Regions from separate parts of the Homo sapiens genome. Here region 2 is linked to region 1. Evidence: promoter capture Hi-C in human tissues and cell types (Jung and others, 2019). All regions are on one chromosome and are shown on one strand. Each heading gives the region's core, a stretch centred on a gene start or on the middle of the fragment in contact. The rest is flanking DNA. Distances are from core to core; before and after follow the strand shown.

Evidence for each region. Contacts are between HindIII fragments. The study calls those that stand out against the background at their distance.
Region 2: a contact is called between a fragment that was not itself captured here and the fragment with the promoter of BPIFC in region 1, in 1 of the 25 tissues and cell types used here (lymphoblastoid cells).

The regions. Positions count from the first base shown.
Region 1 is chr22:32,462,437-32,465,976 of GRCh38, reverse strand. It overlaps BPIFC (BPI fold containing family C), which reads left to right and starts at 1,531. Exons shown (of 17, transcript NM_174932.3): 1 at 1,531-1,603. The HindIII fragment of the contact is 9,351 bases long and covers 1-3,540 here.
Region 2 is chr22:32,787,499-32,790,793 of GRCh38, reverse strand. All of the region lies in intron 6 of SYN3 (synapsin III), which reads left to right. Among named protein-coding and RNA genes, the nearest start is that of TIMP3, 13 kb to the left of the region's middle. The HindIII fragment of the contact is 6,054 bases long and covers 1-3,295 here.

The DNA.
Region 1 (3,540 bases), core at 282-2,781:
GCTGTGAGAAGTATGGACAATGCCAAGTGAAAGCGTCTGTGGTTCCTTTCAGACTGACTTATCATCCTGATTTTCCCAGGACTGTTCTGGTTTTAGTACTGAAAATCCTGCATTCTTGGGAAACCAGGACAGTTGGTCACCGGGTCTTACCCAGAAAAGTGTAGATAAGCCATAAGAACTTCATGCAATCAGGCTGGGTGCGGTGGATCATGCCTGTAATCCCAGGACTTTGGGAGGCCAAGGCAGGTGGATCACTTGAGGTCAAGAGTTCAAGACCAGCCTGGCCAACATGGTGAAACCCCATCACTACTAAAAATACAAAAATTAGCCAAGTTTGGTGGTGCACACCTGTAATTCCAGCTACTCAGAGGGCTAAGGCACAAGAATCGCTTAAACCCTGGAGGCAGAGGTTGTAGTGAGCCAAGATCATGCCACTGCACTCCAGCCTGGGTGACAGTGAGACTGTCTCAAAAAAAAAAAAACCAAAAAACAAAAAAAAAAACTTCATACAATCAAATCCCTGGCCATCTAAAATACATTAATGGCCGGGTATGATGGCTCACATCTGTAATCCCAGCACTTATGAAGCCAACACGGGTGGATCAATCACATGAGGTCAGGAGTTCGAGACCAGCCTGGCCAATGCAGCGAAACCCTGTCTGTACTAAAAATACAAAAAATTAGCTGGGCGTGGTAGCGCACTCCTGTAATCCCAGCTACTAGGGAGGCTGAGGCAGGAGAATTGTTTGAACCCAGGGGGCGGAGGTTGCAGTGAGCCAAGATCGCTCCACTGCACTCCAGCCTGGGTGACAGAGTGAGACTCCATCTCAAAAAATAAATAAATAAAAATAAAAATAGATAAAACACATTAACTAAAATGAATTTATTGGAGATGAGAGTAGGGCTGGAGTTTGGAATCTGAAAATGTTAAGTTGCATAATAGTTGATGAACCCACCCACCCAACTTAGGTTTAAGGAATGCTGGAACAGTAAGTCATTAATAACATTCTGAAAAGGAGCGGACGGACACTGAGAGATGCCAACTGAGGTCCTACCCTGAGTGATAAGGTAACTAGGTCAGCCCGATTGTCAAGCCTCATGCTTTCAGACTGAATCTGATGATCCACCACAAGTCCCAAAGGTATTCTGGGCAGTAGTAGAGCCATCCACCGCAGGCACCCTGACCAGAAGGAACCAGCTTATGATTCCAGACAGGAAAATTCTTCCTCTTCCAATGCAGTTTAACACCGTTTTCAATCATTTTGGTAAAGTAGCCATCACAATTTCACAAGTGGTGTGTGTGTGTGTGTGTGTGTGTGTGTGTGTGTGTTTTGCAGGAAGATAATTATTGCATAGGTGGCACTGTCTGTTTATCTAGGTAGATACTGTAGTGCTCATTCATGCCATTGGGTAATTGTAGTGAAGCAATTATGTATCACATTTTGAAAGAGGCATTAAAAAAATTCACCACTGAGATGAGTCAGACTTAATTATCTTGGCTTTTTAGCAGCTGAGTTTAAGGCGCAAGGTGGAGAACACATCAGCTTCAAAGGCAGAGAGAATCGAAGGTGCTCTCCAGCTTTGGACACTTCCTCTGCTTGAGGTAAGACTCATGAACAAACTTCAGGTCTCTGCCAGCCATGATCTCCAAACTGGAGATGTCCCAGATTTGGTAGGACACTTTGAACAGGCAGCTGTCATATATCCTGGGTTATTATTATTGTCTGCCTAGATTTTTCTGTATCTTTGTTTGTTTGTTTGTGTGATGTCACATATGCGCACCTGGAGGCTTCTTAGGCAAAAGCTTTAGTGACAGCTAAACAGCCATAAGAGAGAAAAGAGTTGGTTTAAACCACCTACTTAGTTTTGCATCATGGAACAATGTTAAGAGGGTTGCTCAGTGATCTGGACTTATTTTTGCCTCCATTTCAGAGGGGAACCCAGCACAGTGGCAGAAAATTCTATCTTGTCTCTCAAAATCAGCATGGTTAGGACTAAGGAGTTGTTATAATCTCTGTGCTTTCAAGGCAGGTCTTAAAGCACATCAGTGACCTAGATCCTGCCAGAGCAAAACTAGCCACCCACTTGCCTGGACTGTTGAACTTGTTGGTGTTAGGCATAGAGTTTTGGGGAAAAGACATGCTATGAATTCTCAAGGTCCTTGTCATTAGAGATGTTGCTATAAAACTAGATGTGAGGAGTGGATCCCTTGAAATATTCTGCCCACGTTCCATACCTGTCGATTTAGACTTCTTATGTACGGTCATTTTGTCTTAACCAATATGTCGGAATACCCTTCTAGTTTAGACTTCTTTAAACCTGTTGAACTTAATTTTTCAACCTGCGCCTCTGTTTTGAAGGCTACATTTTACTCATTCATTACTCCCTTAATCGGTTTTTCCAGAGTCAGTCAAAGCTCTTGCCAAGCAGCAGTAGTAGTAGGACCATCTGTGAGTTTCAGGTGTTTTCTAAATTGGACTGGCATTTTCTTAGCTGTCAGGATGACTCACACAAGGACCATTTAATTTAGGAGTATTATTCTGTCTGTGTATTTGTATGGAAAAATAATGACTACTGAGATTTTGAATCTTGGAAAGAAGCAATTCCCCAGAAGCAACAAAATAGATAACTTGCTGGTGGGGTTTTTAAGTGATCTTGGATCCTTTTAACAGGCAACTAGCCCTGCCTGCACTTGTCAGCCAAATTACTTAACCTTTTAGTAGTCATCACCTTGCTTGACAAGGTTCCTTTCCTCCCCTGCCCATAAGTTATCATCGTAACTGAACAATTCAATGAAAAGTTATGTACAATTCACCCCTTCATACCCCAGTAATTTCTTTCACTCATAAAATTTCTAGAGGAAAAATATGTTTTCCTGCCTGTAATTTTGGATTCCTGGATCTCCATCAAAGTGTACCACTTCAGAAACTTTTTTTAACCAAGAAGGGAAAACAGGTTTTACTGCTGGCAGGGAATTTAAAACTCCAGTTGTGTCCAAGAAAATAAGAAGGGATTTGCACTGTGATGCTTGAACGTTTCTAGATGCTTATTGAATTTTTCCACCTTGAAAATGGTGTTTGGTTTTCTGTGCACATGTACCCTAGAACTTAAAGTGTAATAAAAAAAATTGAGTAACTTTTAAACAACAACAACAAAAAGGAAAATGGTGTCAAGCAACTCCTATTTAAAATTCCCAGATGAAAATGAAAACCCTAGCATGTATCGAGTCATTCAATAAAAATAAATTCATCAACACTAGAATTAGGAACCAGAAGAACAAGGTTGGGTTCCCAGGTGCCTTACTTACTGTGGGATCTTGGACGAGTCATCAGATTCTCTAAGCCTCCATGTCCACGTGTCTAAAATGGGAGTAAGATAATAAGAACATCCACTTCAAAGAACTGTGAGTTTTGTAAAGGGTAAAGAAATAAAAATTTATTATTTTAGTTGTTATTCCATTCACAAGTAATATTTCTTCTCTGGTTTATTATGTTTTTTTCACTATAGAAATGGAGAGCTCTATATTATATATGATAGTTT
Region 2 (3,295 bases), core at 211-2,710, 320 kb before region 1:
GAGCCTATTGTTATACATTCGGGAATTTGCAGGTCGGTCATTAAACATAGGCGTTATTTAAAATTTTGGCTGGGCACAGTAGCTCACACCTGTAATCCCATCACTTTGAGAGGCCGAGGCAGGCGAATCACTTGATGCCAGGAGTTTGAGACCAGCCTGGCCAACATGGCGAAACCCCGTCTCTACTAAAAATACAAAAAATTAGCCAAGCTTGGTAGCACGTGCCTGTAGTCCCAGCTACTTGGGAGGCTGAGGCATAAGAATTGCTTGAACCCAGGAGGTGGAGGTTGCAGTGAGCCAAGATCATGCCACTGCACTCCATCCTGGGCAACAAAGCGAGACTCCGTCTCAATAATAAATAAATAAATAAATAAATAAATAAATAAAGTTTAATTTAATTATATAATGTTATAACTAATAAATTATATTAATGAACACTTGAAACTCCTCACTCCTTAATTGTTTATTACAGTATACTCTTATTTATGCTTTCAGGGTAACTTTCATCTGTTGTTTCTGTATGGTGGAAATATTATATAATGATGTGCTACTGCATTTAGGAACATTACCTTGGTAACTTAAAATTGGCTATGATGGAAGTATTTACACCACAGAAATTGGCAAACACTGCAAATGAGGGCTCTTTGTACTGTAGAGCTACTTGTTAAATATTTACCAGCTTACTACTGCCTTTTCTTAACTGTGTGACCTTCGACAAGTAACTTAACATTCTTGTGCCTCCGTATTCTCGTCTGTGATACAGGGACAACAATAGCGCCTACCTCACAGAGTTACAAGGAATAAATAAGATGATATATGTGGAAAGCGTTTAGCAGAATTCCTGGCACAGAGCCAGCCAATCAGTGAATAGTCACTGTCAATATTATTAAGACAATCTACAAGTAGCCTTTCCTCCCACCCAAGCTGGGAGCACCCATCAGAGATGACCTAACTTGAAGTTCATCACCCTGTACTGGGATTGTCAGTTTCTGTGTAACTTTCCCTCTTTAGAAAGTGAGCTAATTGACAGGGCTAATTGAATTTCCTCTTCCAAGAACGTAACCAATACTGATACCCAGTAGGTCCTCAACAAATTTTTGGATTAAATTTAGTTAAAACAGTTTAGAGGCTACTGAAAAATCAGAATTAGGAAACATGGAAGCTTCCCCAATCACATAAATATTTAAGTACTAATAATTCTCCACACAAAAGCATTGCTGGAACATTGTGTTTGAGGTTCATTTCTTAGGAGTACCCCATAGTAAAGTCATTCCAGAACTGAAAGCGCCCTGAATTGGTGCCTGGACAGACCCACTGCACAATGAACTCTGTTTTATATCAGAGTTCTCAGTGTATATAATATGGAGTCCTCTGATTGTCTTAGCATGTCAAGTAGGAATATGATCGGTAACTTTCCAAAACACTTGAAGGTGGCTGGAACTGCTTTTTGCCTCAAGTATTTAGAGAAAAAAGACCTTGATGTCACATCAACAAACTCAAAAAGAGATTGTGCATACCTGGAGTGCTTTTTCTAGGCCTGGGAGGCAGTGATTGGGGGCTGATTTCAGGAGGAAAGAAGGGGAGAGGCTGAAGGCATGTTGAAAAATCATTTTTTTGTCTATTGCTCCTTTGTATGAACTGGTTGCTGGCTTATGCAATGCCCAGTAATTAAAATGGCTGGAATGCTTTGCATTTTTAAGGCAAAGTGAAGGCGGCTCAGAGGCCTGGAGCCGGAGCCAGCTGGAGGGGGGCCCAGCAATCCTACCCTGGCCGCCCCTTGGCCTGGCAGAGGTGACTGGCATCTGGCTTGTTGGGGGTGGGGGGGCAGCATGTGGCAAGGAGGAGGAAGGAAGTCAGAGGTGTCCCGAGTTGTTCCCACTCCTCTCCCCTTTCCCCAGGCAGGTGGGTGCACCAAGATGCATGCCTCTAGAATGAAGGTAGGCACAGGCCGCCCACCTTCTAGAAGTCCGTAATGACTAGTGGCAATGCCAAGTCATGATAAACAATAATAAAGCTGTTCTTTATTAAATATCTATCATGTTTCAGGTCCTGTATTAATAACATTGATTCCAGGACTTTCACAGGTGCTCAAATCCTTGATATAAAATGGTATAGTATTTGCACATAATCTAAACATATCCTCCCACATACTTTAAATCATCTCTAGATTACTTATAATATCTAATACAATGTAAATACTAAGTAGTTGTTATACTGTATTTTTAAATCCATATTATTATTATTTTTTTTTTTGAGATGGAGTCTTGCGCTGTTACCTGGGCTGGAGTGCAGTGGCACGATCTCTGCTCACTGCAACCTCCGCCTTCTGAGTTCAAGCGATTCTCCTGCCTCAGCCTCCTGAGTAGCTAGGATTACAGGGGTACACCACCATGCCCAGCTAATTTTTTGTATTTTTAGTAGAGATGGGGTTTCATCATGTTGGCCAGTCTGGTCTCGAACTCCTGACCTCGTGATTCGTCCATCTTGGCCTCTAAAAGTGCTGGGATTATAGGCGTGAACCACCACGCCCAGCCAAATTCATGTTTTTTTTAATATAGTCGTATTGTTATTTTTTATTGTTTGTTTTTTCCAAATGTTTTCCATCCACGGTTGGTTGAATCCCGATGTGGAATCCACAGATACAGAGGGCTGACTGGATTATCCGATTTCAAGAGAAAAAAAACGAGATCATATTACTCTTCTGCTCAAAACTCTATGGTGGATCCCTAATGCACTTGAAGTCTAAATGCCTTGGCCTTCTAGACCCAGCGTGGCATTGCCCCTGCTGTGGCTGTCCATGTCTCTCCCACTCTCACTTGTGTTTACACTACACTGACCTCCTTTTCCTCCTTTAACCAAGCCAAACTCAGTCCCAGCTCCAGGACTGCCCTGACCCTCCCTCTGCCTCTCCCAGGTCTTGCCATGGCCAGTCAGATCCTTCTAATTCTGCAGCTTCCAGCTCAGATATTACCTTCTCGGGGAGGTGTGCCGCAGCGGAGGAGCACAGCCATCCCCAGTCACTGGAGCCTCCCAGGGTCTCATTTTTCACATGGATTTTTCTTTTCTGGGCTTATCAGTATCTGAAAAAAACTTATTAAAATGTTTATTAATTGTCCTTTAATTCTAAACAATTAGTGTTTCTAGCTGCACAAAGAAAACAGTGCAAGATGCCTGTCTTATTCACTGCTCTGTCCCCGGTATCCCAGATCAAGGCTCAGTAAATATTTTTTTGAAATAGTGAATCTTCACAACAACCCAGTGAGGTAGACATCATCATCCTCATTTTCCAGATGAG